Regions from separate parts of the Homo sapiens genome. Here all the other regions are linked to region 1. Evidence: promoter capture Hi-C in 16 types of primary human blood cells and fetal thymus (Javierre and others, 2016). All regions are on one chromosome and are shown on one strand. Each heading gives the region's core, a stretch centred on a gene start or on the middle of the fragment in contact. The rest is flanking DNA. Distances are from core to core; before and after follow the strand shown.

What was found. The method cuts DNA at HindIII sites, captures the fragments that hold promoters and counts their contacts. A CHiCAGO score of 5 or more calls a contact.
Region 2: a fragment that was not itself captured here is called in contact with the fragment with the promoter of ASTN2 in region 1 in 1 of 17 cell types (M2 macrophages); the score reaches 5.0 in M2 macrophages.
Region 3: a fragment that was not itself captured here is called in contact with the fragment with the promoter of ASTN2 in region 1 in 2 of 17 cell types (monocytes and M2 macrophages); the score reaches 5.2 in monocytes.

Annotation. Positions count from the first base shown.
Region 1 is chr9:117,412,870-117,417,061 of GRCh38, reverse strand. ASTN2 (astrotactin 2) reads left to right here and starts at 2,005. Exons shown (of 23, transcript NM_001365068.1): 1 at 2,005-2,565. The coding sequence starts at 2,124. The HindIII fragment of the contact is 7,467 bases long and covers 1-4,192 here.
Region 2 is chr9:116,723,717-116,727,908 of GRCh38, reverse strand. ASTN2 (astrotactin 2) reads left to right here. Exons shown (of 23, transcript NM_001365068.1): 16 at 1,959-2,138. Among named protein-coding and RNA genes, the nearest start is that of TRIM32, 39 kb to the right of the region's middle. The HindIII fragment of the contact is 3,162 bases long and covers 545-3,706 here.
Region 3 is chr9:116,742,223-116,746,414 of GRCh38, reverse strand. The region is part of intron 13 of ASTN2 (astrotactin 2); the gene reads left to right. Among named protein-coding and RNA genes, the nearest start is that of TRIM32, 57 kb to the right of the region's middle. The HindIII fragment of the contact is 9,300 bases long and covers 1-4,192 here.

The sequences.
Region 1 (4,192 bases), core at 756-3,255:
GACTATGTCAGCATATTTGAAGAAAGGGGCATAGAGAATCAGAAAGCCCCATTGCGGTGGATAGTGGCGGATTGTAAGGACACAAAGGAGAGACTGAGGGAGGCAGGGTGACATATTTTGGAGGAGTAAATGAACTAGAGCAGGCATCAGAGAGGCAGGAGACCATTTAGAATTAGAGGACTTGAAAGGCCAGATTCCACCCCAACCTCCACACATCCTTTGGGTTCACAGATTAGTAAACTGAGACAGGAGAAGTATACCTTACAAACCTCACAGGGAAGTAGATCCAACTGTGCTTATGCAGATTTACCTTTTACAGCATCTTTGATGGGTGGGGTTTTCCAAGGTCACTGAGGACAGTGTAATTTAAGGGAAACAGTCAAGGCTTGAAGCCTACTGTTCAAACCTCAGCTCTTCAGCTCATTTGCTATACGACCTTGGAAAATCCCTTCACCTCCCTGACCACCTGATCTCAGTTTCCTCACATGGAAAATGGGAATCATAATATCCATCTTTTTGGATTATGGTCATGTAAAAAAGCTAACATACGTACATGTCTAGCATTTGGAGAATGCTTTAAACACATTAAGTCCAAGGTCGCAAAACAGCTTTTGCTTTTTTCCTTATTTTCAGTGCTCTGCCTTTATCCAACGTTATTAAAAAATATATGATGAGAGAGGAGAAAAGCAATTTATATGAAGGGTTAAAGATAGAAAAGGGGAATGAGACAGAAGAGGGAAGAGCTAAGAGAAAAGTGAATGCATAGAGACAGCACAAAAGGTGCAGATGGGTAAGCTAGACAGAGATGAGAAGTTGCTCACAAATTATAGGAAAGAAGCATTTGTAAGATTAAAGTCAAGATGAGAAGGAAGGAAATGAATGGAGAGATGAAACAGAAAACAGAGACAGGGAAGATGAAGAAAAGTAGGGGAGTGGGGAAGGGGCTGCACGGCACTTGACCCATGCAGAGGTGTCCGCTCCCTGGAGGGTCTCAGGTATGTGGGTCAGAGACAGAGTCAGCCCAAGACCAAAGGGTGCTGAATCTGAGGACCTAGCTCAACTTGAGTCTAGAAAGACTGCAGGTGAAGAATTGGTGAGCACTCCCGTTCTCTGGGACTTGGGCAGAGGATCTAAAAGACCCGGGAGCCAAGGACAGACAGAATAGTAGGTCTCTACCTCACACCCTTTTCAGGAATTTCACACAGAGAGCAGAAGCAGCCAAGTAGAGCTGCTCCAAGCTGGGAGCAGGGATCCAAAATAAAAAAGCGTGAGTGGGCTGGCTTGCAGGGCGGCAGCTAGGGGGCCAGAACAGCCCGGCTTCAGTCAGTTGTGGGGTCGGCGTTAGACGGTGGAGTTCGACGCCCCTCTGTCCATTAGCAATTAGTGCTAGCACAAGGCCTGGATGGAGGGGAGAGGAAGGTTTGCGGGCAGTGGGAGAATGAATGCAGGAGTTGTGGCCAAGTGGGTGGGAAGGGGGCTCTGAGGCTACAGGAAGTTATTTCAGAGACTAGAAAAGGGTAGGAGATTGGAGAAAGGACTTGTTCTTGGGCCTGAGGGGAGACAAAGTTAAGTCTTGGCTATCCAGGGGGCTCCCTATCCCCAAGAAGGCGGGGCCTTGAGCAAGGCTGGGCCAAGGCGCGCCCCCAGGTGCAGCCTCTGGGTTGAGCCGAAGGTGGGGTGAAGCCAGGAGAACTGGGTTGAGTCAGGGGGGCTTGGGGGGGCCCGAGGGGGCCCTAAGTATTAGGAATTTGGGGAGTTTAGGGAGGGGTGTTGTGGCTAAAGAATGCTGTGAGGGCGGAATTGGGGGATCTTGGGAAAGGGGAGGGAGCCACTGGGACTTGCACGAGGCCGGGCGGAGCCTCCGAAACGCTCGGGGTCTGCGGGGGGAGCCGGAGATCGGGGACGGGCGGCTGGGCCCCGGGAGGCGGCGCGGGGGGGCGGTCCAGGGCCGATCGGGAGGCGGAGCCCGGAGCTGGGGGCTGCTGGCGAGCGGCTCTCTCCGCTCCTTAGCTCGGGCGTCCTGGTTCGCTTCGGCGTCCGCCGTCTCCGCAGCTGCCTCCTCTTCCTCCTTCGCCACCGCCGCCACCGCCGCCGCCGCCCGCAGCACCGCAGCCCCTCCCGCCATGGCCGCCGCCGGCGCCCGGCTCAGCCCCGGCCCCGGCTCGGGGCTCCGGGGGCGGCCGAGGCTCTGCTTCCACCCGGGGCCGCCGCCACTGCTGCCGCTGCTGCTGCTGTTCCTGCTCCTGCTGCCGCCGCCGCCGCTGCTGGCCGGCGCCACCGCCGCTGCCTCGCGGGAGCCCGACAGCCCGTGCCGGCTGAAGACCGTCACGGTGTCCACACTGCCCGCCCTGCGGGAGAGCGACATCGGCTGGAGCGGCGCCCGCGCCGGGGCCGGGGCTGGGACCGGGGCCGGAGCCGCCGCCGCCGCCGCGTCCCCGGGCTCTCCTGGCTCTGCCGGCACCGCCGCCGAGTCGCGCCTCCTGCTCTTTGTGCGTAACGAGCTGCCGGGGCGCATCGCGGTGCAGGACGACCTGGACAACACCGAGCTGCCCTTCTTCACCCTGGGTAAGGCTGGGCGCCGGCACGCGCTAGATCCCAAGGAACCCCGAGCCCCTGCGTCATGCCGGACGGGTGGGGGCGCCCTGGGGATCCCTGCCCGGGGCTGCCCCGAGTGGGGTTGGCAGAGGGTAGAGGAGGGGCCCAGAGGTCGCACAGGTGGTTGGAAACGAGCATGTGGGAGGAGGTCCTGGAGAGCGCGCGGCGGGAGCCTGGGGGCGTGCCAACCCTCCCGCAGTGGGAACCTGCCCCTCTGCCTCTCAGTCCCGACCTGGAGCTCTGCTTGATCCATCCCGGAAGCCGGAGACCCCATTCACTGAAGGTGCTCTGGCTAGGGGCCGGAGCATCCCAGATCCTAAGCCAGTTTCAGGTCGAGCCTCCCACTTCTCCGGGTACCGTCACTGGCCACCCGCCGTCACCGCCCCCTCGCTCTCGCCTCGGAGTTGCGGGTTCTGCCCTTCCAGATGGATTTTCATGAGAGTAGGAATGGAGTAGTTCCGTGTGGAATCGCTCAACCCGCAAAAGCGTGGCTTCCGCATGGGCTGAGTGACCTTGGCCAAGTCGCTTCCCTTCTCTGAGCCTCAGTTCTGGCCATCTGTGAAATAGGGCTGGAGAGACTTGAGTGGTTGCTGAGAACTGGGATTCCGACTCCGAGGTCTCCACGTTTAGAGCCTCCCTCTACCCCCGTTACCGCCTTCCCTTTCTACCCACCTCCAGGCAGAGAGCCGGTTTGTCCTTGCAGCTCACTCCCTGGGCTAATAATAATTACTTAAAGGCAAGAAAAAGGAGAGGAGAGGAGATGGGTGTGGGTGGGGGGCTCCAACGGAAAAGTTAATCAGAAAAGTTCGCCAGCAGCTTGCTGCCTGCTGGTTCCCTGCGCGAATCCCGGAGGAGTCGGCCCTTCAGTGGAGCTGTGGGAAGCGCAGCTGATTTCCCACCCGGGTAATTGATAGCTTAATTATCTCGGAGAGCGTTTACAAAAATGTTGTTCCCCTTAGCTCTCCCGCGCTCGCTGCTTGCTCGCTCTCCCCTCCCCTCTTGGGGGCGCGGGGCCTTATTGGTTGTCGGAGTCTGGCCAACAACAGCGCCCGTGAGGCGCCAGGGGCTCGCCCAGACCCGGAGCTCTTCTTCCCCGGGTCTTTTCCTCGGCGGGATCCGCCTCGGGCACCGCAGGTGAGGGGCCTTCCAGGTGAGAACCTTTACGATCCCTGAACTTCCGAGGTTAACTCCTTGCTCGCCTGAAAAGACCCACAGAATAATCAGCGGACTACGCTCCACTCTCCTGGTAGCCCTGATATTGTTAAAAGTATTTTTGTGACCCACTCCCCATCCTTTCATGCTACCACCTCTGGGGATTTGAGCGAGTGCCAGTGGTTCTCCCGCTCTGAGCTTGAACCTCGGGGGTCGAGCCCCTGTACCCACCCTCGCAGGCTGTAACCTGAGCGTGCCGAGCGTTCCGGGAGGAGAGGCAGCGGAGCGTCCTGCAGGTTCCTCGGGGACTCCCCGCGGCGGCGCTTCTGGGGTGCGACGCACCAAGCACACACACACAGACACACACAAACCAGTAGCTCTTCCCACGTGCACCTGTGGGGCTGCCCATGTCCGAGAAAGGGAAGGAGGGTGGAGGTGGTGTTCC
Region 2 (4,192 bases), core at 876-3,375, 690 kb after region 1:
AATTATTGCTGACATCTGTTAAGCATTTTATAATAGTTCATTTCTTATGACAGAACAGTACTGTGAGGAAGACATTATTTATCCCATTTTTCTTCAGATAAGTATACTGAGGGTTAGGGAGGTTAAATAACTTGCCCAAGGTCACACAGCTAGTAAGTGGCAGAGCAGGGAATGAATGAATCAAGGATTTGATTGCAGTTTTGTCTGCCTGGATAAGACCCTCAGGGCATCTCTGTGGTATTGTTTTTTATTACTTAACAGAAACCATCTCGTTATTAACACTACTGTATTAATTACCCAGTTGTATTACTTAACAGGTTGATGGAGAGGGGTTGTTCTCATCAAACACCCATTCTTTGAGCCCCCTATTTTTGTTTTCTGCCCCCCACACCCCACACTGCATTTGTGAATAAGACTATGATGTTCCTGTTAGAAGTACAAAGGTGCATCTGCTTTAATTAATCAATAATGATGCTCCCGGAAAACCCTTTTGTCAATCAAATGTTGGCAAATTGGAGCTCACTTTTAATGCTGGAGAGAAGCTTGTTCTTTTACATTTTACTTTGATGTGGCACAGTGTTGGCTGTTCTTGTAATAATTGTGGTTGGTGTGTTTGCTGTGTCCCAGGAACTGGGCCATGTACCCAGTTGGGGTGGGTGTGCAGGGAGGATGCATGTGCGGATATAGAGACAAATAAGGTAGAGCTTCCGACTTTAAGGTGGTGCATGTTGAAAGTGCAGACAGTAGGCACTCCTGTCCATAATGATGTGAAAGGCTTCTTGGAGAAGAGGTGACTTCCAGGGGCCTTGAAGCATAGGTGTGACTTAGGGAGGACATAGGGAGGCCATTTCAGGTGTGTGTGTGTGTGTGTGTGTGTGTGTGTGTGTGTGTGTGTTGAGTGTAGTGAGAATGCAAGGAAAGATAGAATGATAGAAATTTCAGGTCACATTCAGGATAAATAATAAAACTAATTTGGCTGGAGCTAAAACTTAGTGTGGGTGGCTCATTAGAGATGAGCTTGGAACCTTGAATTTCTAAAGAAGGTCACTAGGCTTTGTCCAGTAGCAGGGAGGAGCTCAGGAATGTCCCTGGAAGAATAGCTTGCTCATGTGCCTGTTTGAGGAAGGAGAGAAAGAGGGAGCAGTTTTTACTGAGTGACTGCTGTGCAGGCCCCATGTTAAGTGCTGAGGACTTAGCCTAGGACTAAGAAATAGAGCAGCAAGAAGGCTCTGTGGAAATCTAGGGAGAGAGAACATACCACTGTTAAAGAGAGGGAACAGCAGAGATATAAAGAAAAGCAATGCTACAGGAAGCTAAACCAGGAATCAGATTCATGGACTCAGAATACATGCTGACTCTGGGCAAATGCAGCCTTAGGATTCCAGCCATGGGCAGTTCAAGCCCTGGTTTGTTTGGTGTGGTGGAAAATGCATGCAGTGTGCAGTGAGAACATAAGTGGGTTTGAGTCCAGCTTCTTTCTCTACCTGGAAGTTCAAGATAACTCAATTTTAGTCTCTCAGCTTTGACTTGCTCATTATACAATGGGTGTTGTTGTTGTCAAATTATATATGATTGTGGCTAAGGTTAAGTTACATAAAGAGGGTGAAACATCTAACAGTTTTCCCAGTACACATTGGTTGCTCAGTGAGTGGATATCAGCTTTGACTTCTTGATTTATCTTTTTTAAGTTCCCATGGTCTACGTTGCTGAGTTTAGGCCTTCTTCTCCTGCAGATTCCCTCTTGGTCACCGTGTCTGATGTACCCCTCAGAGAGGGCATTCATTGCTATTTAAGTGAGGGAATTATGTATATGTTTGGACTAGTGCAGCCACCAAGCTGCCACTGTGCTGAGGGGTAAGGCACAAAATACAGGTTGGGAAGAACTCCTGCCACCGTATAATTTGCTAGCCGCCAGCCTCTCACATCTGACCACCTCCACATGCTCCTCTCTTGTCCAGGCTTCACTAATGTTCTCAAGATCCTGACCAAGGAGAGCAGTCGGGAGGAGCTGCTGTCCTTCATCCAGCACTATGGCTCCCACTACATCGCAGAGGCCCTCTATGGCTCAGAGCTCACCTGCATCATCCACTTTCCCAGCAAGAAGGTCCAGCAGCAGCTGTGGCTCCAGTATCAGAAAGGTAAGCCCGGAGTGCCTACTGTAGGAGGTGGCCAGGCAGGCTATAGAGGCAAGGGGTCTGGGGAGACAACTGAGCTGCCTTGGATCTAAATCCTGGCTCTGCCACGTCTAAGCTGTGTGACCATGGGCAAGTCCCTGCCTCTCTCTGAGCTTCAGTTTCACCATGGGCAGAGTGAGGGATCGTATAATGATTTTGCAGGATTCTCTCAAGTCAGGCATTTTCTGAGGCCTCAAGTTAGTGTTCTAGACTCCAGAACCCTTGCCTTCTCTTGCAGGTACTTTGCTTCCCACATCCTCTCTTTGAAACAACTGCCAGAGATCAGGTTGGGGGTCAGCAAGTGGTGTCTTCTTGACACTTTCTTCTCTCCAGGCTTCTTGGGAGAACCCAAGAAGATCTTGGGTTCTTCTCTCCCAAGAAGAACTCAATTCCTTTGGAAAAACAATCACCTCATAACCAAGCAGACGGTTTCCATTCTGTCCTGTGGTGAGGCTTTTATCCTCAGGAAGGGCCAGCAGATTTCATTTTCCTCTGACTCTCAGCTATTATCAGAATTGGAATTCCTCAGACCAGGTGCTGGAGACCAGTCTCTGCCCACTCACCTTGTGAAGGTTATTCCTTTTCCACCTCAATTTTCTCTTCCTGTGAAATGGGTACGTAAGTAGCTATTCTTGTCTGCTTCTCACATTAAAGATAAGTGGTTTATGTAATAGCATTTTGAGGAAGTTAGAATATCGCACATGTGTATATATGTGTTTTAATAGGTCAGTGTATTCATACTCCCATTTTACACATGAGAAAATGAGTCTCAGATATGCCACATCAAGTACTCATAGACACACAGCTAATAAGTAGCAGGGTCAGGATTGGAACCCAAGGCTGGCTGGCTGCAAAAGCCCATGTTCTTTCCCTCTTTCAACTATACTGAAATGCTTCTTGATATAGTTAATACTATTATTATCAACTATTTGTAAAAGAAAGTCTCTCAATTGATGGAAAGGGTGAAGAGCAATGTTAAAAACATGCTTGCATCTTTTCATACAGCTCAGCCACCCTATCTCCAAGAACAAAAGCAATCATAACAAAAAACCACAAAATGTGGGAGCCAGGAGGGATCTGAAGGATCTCATTGAGCATAGCACTCCAGTTTTGCAGTCGAGGAAACTAAGTCTATAGGGGAGAAGAAGGGAGCTTTCACGCAGCTTTGCTTGGCAGGGCCAAGACCAAGTGGGGTGCTCTACACCTCCTGTCTAGTGCTTTTTATGCAGCTGCACATTCCCAACTGGATAAAACCCTAGTCCACCTGCTTCCCAATCTCTAGATCCCTTCCCTTTTGTCCCTGGGGGCTTTGCATCCCCAGTCGTGCTCTCAGCCCTTTCTGCTTCCTGTGTGCAACTGTGTGGGGCACGGGGTGGTTTATGGGCACAGTGGATATAATTGAGTTGTCTGGGAATAGCTCCGTTTTATGGCTGTGTCAATGACAGTCTTTAAGGAAGTGCATTAAATCAATAGAAGTCTCATTGTGCTACCCTACAAATAATGTGACACATCATTAAGCAGGGCAATAAGCTTCAGGACTTTGAAGTAATACTATTAGGTTATGTTTATAAAAACCTTCACTCACTGTGGCTACATAACTAATTTGCTTCATACCACGTTTGGGGCTTGGGACACTACTCTGATTCTAAATCCCACCCCTTCTCCATCCTTAGCTGTCTTCAGACTTTAGACTTGACTTTCTCATTCCAGAAAATCCCATTCCTTGTATGGTGGATCATGGAATCTGTTACAAGTAAGATGGGAGAGGGGAAGAAAGAGTGCTGAAACAACAGCTGGAGGGGTCCCCCTCAAGACCTGGCTTTGCCGCAAACTTGTGGGGTAAACTTGGTGTTTTCCTTCCTGGGCTTCTAGTCTGCAAAGGCACTTTTCTTGCTTCCATCGTCCATACTTGCTCCCAAGAAAAGGACAGAGGATGCATTGAGGTCAGCTTAACCATTCTGTGTGTGTTTCTTCCCCTCCATCTTCACCTGCTGTGACCACCTAGATGGTAGATCAAA
Region 3 (4,192 bases), core at 541-3,040, 670 kb after region 1:
AGAGTGTGTGATGTGAAAAGGACTCAATTGGCCGGGCATGGTGGCTCAAGCCTGTAATCCCAACATTTTAGGAGGCTGAGACAGGCAGATCACGAGATCAGGAGTTTGAGACCAGCCTGACCAACACAGTGAAACCCCATCTCTACTGAAAAATACAAACATTAGCCGGGCATGGTGATGCATGCCTGTAATCCCAGCTACTCAGGAGGGTGAGGCAGGAGAATCGCTTGAATCCAGGAGTCGGAAGTTGCAGTGAGCTGAGATGGCGCCACTACACTCCAGCCTGGGTGACAGAGCAAGACTCTGTCTCAAAAAAAAAAAAAAAAAAAAAGTACTCAGTTTGCCTTGGCTGGCTTTCAGGATTGAGGAAAGGGGCCATGAGCCATATGGACAGCCTTAAGAAGCAGGGGAAAGGCAAGGAAGTCAACTCTCCCCTAGAACCTCCAGAAAGAAACATCTCTGCTGACACCTAGATGTTAGCCCAGAATCCCATGTCAGACTTCTGACCTAGAGAACTATAAAATAAATTAATGTTGTTTTGAGCCTCTAACTTTGTGATGATGTTTTACAGCTGCAATAGAATGCTAATACATGGAGCTAATGACATATTTGTGTTAGAAACATTTCAGAAAATCGTTCTGGCTGCAAGATAGTAAATGAATTGGAAGGGGCAAGGCTGAATTCAGAAAGCATAGTTAACAGGTCATTGTAGTAGTCGCTATGAGAGGGGATGATGGCCTCAAGAACAGCTATTAGGGACTGTGTCTATACCAAACCCTGGAATCAGACTGTGGGGAGGAGGGCTCTGAGGGAAACTAGTTATATAGATCCTTGCAGCATTGACCATTGAATCTGAGATGGGAAACACGTGCAGAGAACAATCATACCTAGCAGAGTTGGTGATCTTGAGATCAGAGCCAAAGTCAAGTGCTGTGGAAACAGAAGGATATTGCTTCCAAAGAAGGGACTCAGTGACAGCTTCCTGAAGGAGACGACACCACGAGGTCTGTCTGGGAAGTCTACGAGAGAGCGCAGAGGAGGCTGCAAAGAAGAAACAAATACAGCTGCTGCCTGGAAGGAGTTCACAGTTCAGAGAAGGTATCAGGCAGGTAGAGAGGTCACTCTGCCTAACCCTTGAGAATGCACAAGTCGAAACAGGACTGGATTGGAAACTAAGAATAGGGATTGGTAGTCAGTCCAATTCTGCCAAGAAAACACCTGCAAGGCCTTAAATAAGACACTTCTCTATACTGCCTCTGCTTCTTTTCCTATCAAATGGTAACAGTAATGCTTATCATTTCTAGGAGCATCAGATGTGATTAGAGTGGACCCATGGGTATGGGCCACTGGATAGGCCAGTAAAGCAACTTTGCAGCCATGGTCCTTGAAACACCCTGGACAGTAGGGGTCACAAGCTGCATTCTGCTAGGGAGCAAATTGCAGTTCTGAGAGCCTCCGTCTGGGTGGTGACTTGGCCTGCTTGAAGTGCTGGGGGTTAGGCTTGAGATCTGGCCATCTTCCTGTGGGTCTCACAGTTAGCAGTTAAGCTGAGGTGGACTGACAGCTAGCAGAGGCAGAAAGGAGGCCGAGGACATATGTGATGGGACAAAGCACATTGGTCTGTTTTCTAGCTGTGGTTAATGAACTCAGGCATGTGTGGAGGGCTCTGGTTATTAGTACTAATAATAAGCAAATACTGGGGAGGCAGGTCTCTGGAGTCAGCACAGGAGCATGGGCTTGACTGCTTGGGCTCAAACCTGCTCAATATATCCCATGACTCTTCTTTTACTCCCCACCACGTGCAGTTGGCAATGGAGATCAGCAGGTTCTACTTCCTGACTCTCTCTCAAATCTGTGCCTCTTCTCTGTATTCTGTTGTCCATCTAATCGGTTATGTCTTGTCTGGATTACTGCAAAACCTCTTAACTGGTCTCCCTCCTTCCAGCCTTTTTTCAGTCCATCCTCTACCCTGTAGTCAGGCAGTCTTTTTGAAGCTCCTATCTGATGGTTTTGCTTTCCTGCTGAATACCCTACAGTGGGTCTCCTTACCCTTAGAATGAAGCCCACCTTCTGTAGCATCACTTAGAAAACCCATGAGATCTGATCCCTATGTGGCCTCCTCTAGCCCTATCCCATCCTTGCTTCTCACTCGCTGCTTTAGCATCTTGAAACTTAGCTTATTGCAATTTCCAGAACATGCCATGTGTTTTATCTGTGCCTCTTCCATACACACACATGCGCCCACACACATACACCCCTATGGACTTTTGTGCATGCTGTTCTTTCTGCCTAGGCCCCACCCTCACCTCCTTTTTCTGCCCTCTCCCTTGTTAACCCCTCCCAATCTGTCAAGTCTCACCTCCTCCAGGGAGCCTTCCTGACCTCCTCAGTCTACATTAAGTTTTCCTTCTCTTCATTTCCTTTGTCCCTGAACTTTCCCGATGAAACTTAGACTTTATCCCTCTAACCTATAACCATCCATTCTCACAGTCAAGCATTCAAAAATTATTTTGCTGCAACTCAGTATACAAAAACACTGTTGTCTTAATTTTCTACAACTGACATAATAATTCTCTCAAGTTTTCATTCCACTGATAGCAAAAACATGTTTCTGCCTGGTACGGTGGCTCACGCCTGAAATCCCAGCACTTTGGGAGGGCGAAGTGGGCATATTATTTGAGGTCAGGGGTTCAAGACCAGCCTGGCTGACATGGTGAAACCCCGTCTCTACTAAAAATACAATTAGCTCGGTGGGGTGGCACACCCCTGTAATCCCAGCTACTCGGGAGGCAGGCGAATCGCTTGAACCCGGGAGATGGAGGTTTCAGTGAGCCGAGATCACACCAGTGCACTCCAGCCTGGGCGACAGAGTGAGATCCCGTCTCACTGGAGTGCAGCGGCATGATCTCGGCTCACTACAAGCTCTGCCTCCTGGGTTCACGCCATTCTCCTGCCTCAGCCTCAGCCTCCTGAGTAGCGTGGACTACAGGCGTCCGCCACCACGCCTGGCTAATTTTTTTGCATTTTTAGTAGAGGCGGGGTTTCACCATGTTAGCGAGGATGGTCTCAATCTCCTGACCTCAAGATCTGCCTGCCTCGGCCTCCCAAAGTGCTGGGATTACAGGCATAAGCCACCATGCCCGGCCAAGTATTTCCATTTTTTGATTAAGGATACAAAACATTTTCTCTAGGGTAAACGTTTAGTCCACTCAAAGTTCAACTCCCCACCAGTCTTGCCTCAGTTGCATTCTCCCCACCAGCCTTGCCTCTCCCCCTTACCAAACAGTCTCCCCTACCCCTTAACTTGGCCTCAGAGAAGGCAGAGGTTGGTGAGGGAAGGTCTCTGGTACAAATGTGTTCTTGTGGATCCTTGCTGGTATTTGCTATGTGATTTTTTGTTTGAGCTTGGCTCTGAGCGCTGGCACTGGCATCCATTGAGGTATGGATGGTCTTGGGTAGTTTTTTGAGAGAAGCAATGTGTTGGAACACACAGCCAATGTCCAAGGTCATTAGGTCTCAACACTCTGAAGCCCCCTTGGTTCTAATGTTCTAATCTCAGCCTCATCTACCATCCCTGCCACCATGGGAGCGAAGGAGTTATGCCAAGAAGTCTTTTTATTTTTAATTTTATATTTTAATTGACATATAACAATTGCACATATTTATGGGGCCAGGAAGTCTTGACAGTTTTATCCCCTTTACCCTGTGTATGCAGAACTTGGCATGGGTGGCTCCAAATTCAAGTCTCTTCTTCACTTACTGCTACCCTCTCCCAGGAGCTCCTGTTGGCTTGTTGAGCGAGGGGCTTGCAAACTTCCCAGACTATATCCTGAGTCTAGGGGAGCAAACCCTATCACCCCTGCTCACCCGTATCGAGATTCTTAAATATCTTAAGCATTTATTGACACTACCCTTGTACTTGGAATGAATGAGGGGTGGTTTGACTTCCAAAAGGCCAGGAGGAGGGTCACTGAGGCACTCCCATCTGAACTCTCAGCCACTTGACTTTCCTCTTCAACAATTCCTTGCAGCATCAGTGGCAGAAAGAAGAGTGTACTATTTCCTTTTCTTATCTGGTGGGTACAACTGTGAGGCCATCACCTGCCCAATCTGTATATTAAAATAAAACATAATGATCTGAGTCAGCAGGTCTGTCTTTTGATAGAGAAGGGAACTTCGCCCTCAGCACAGG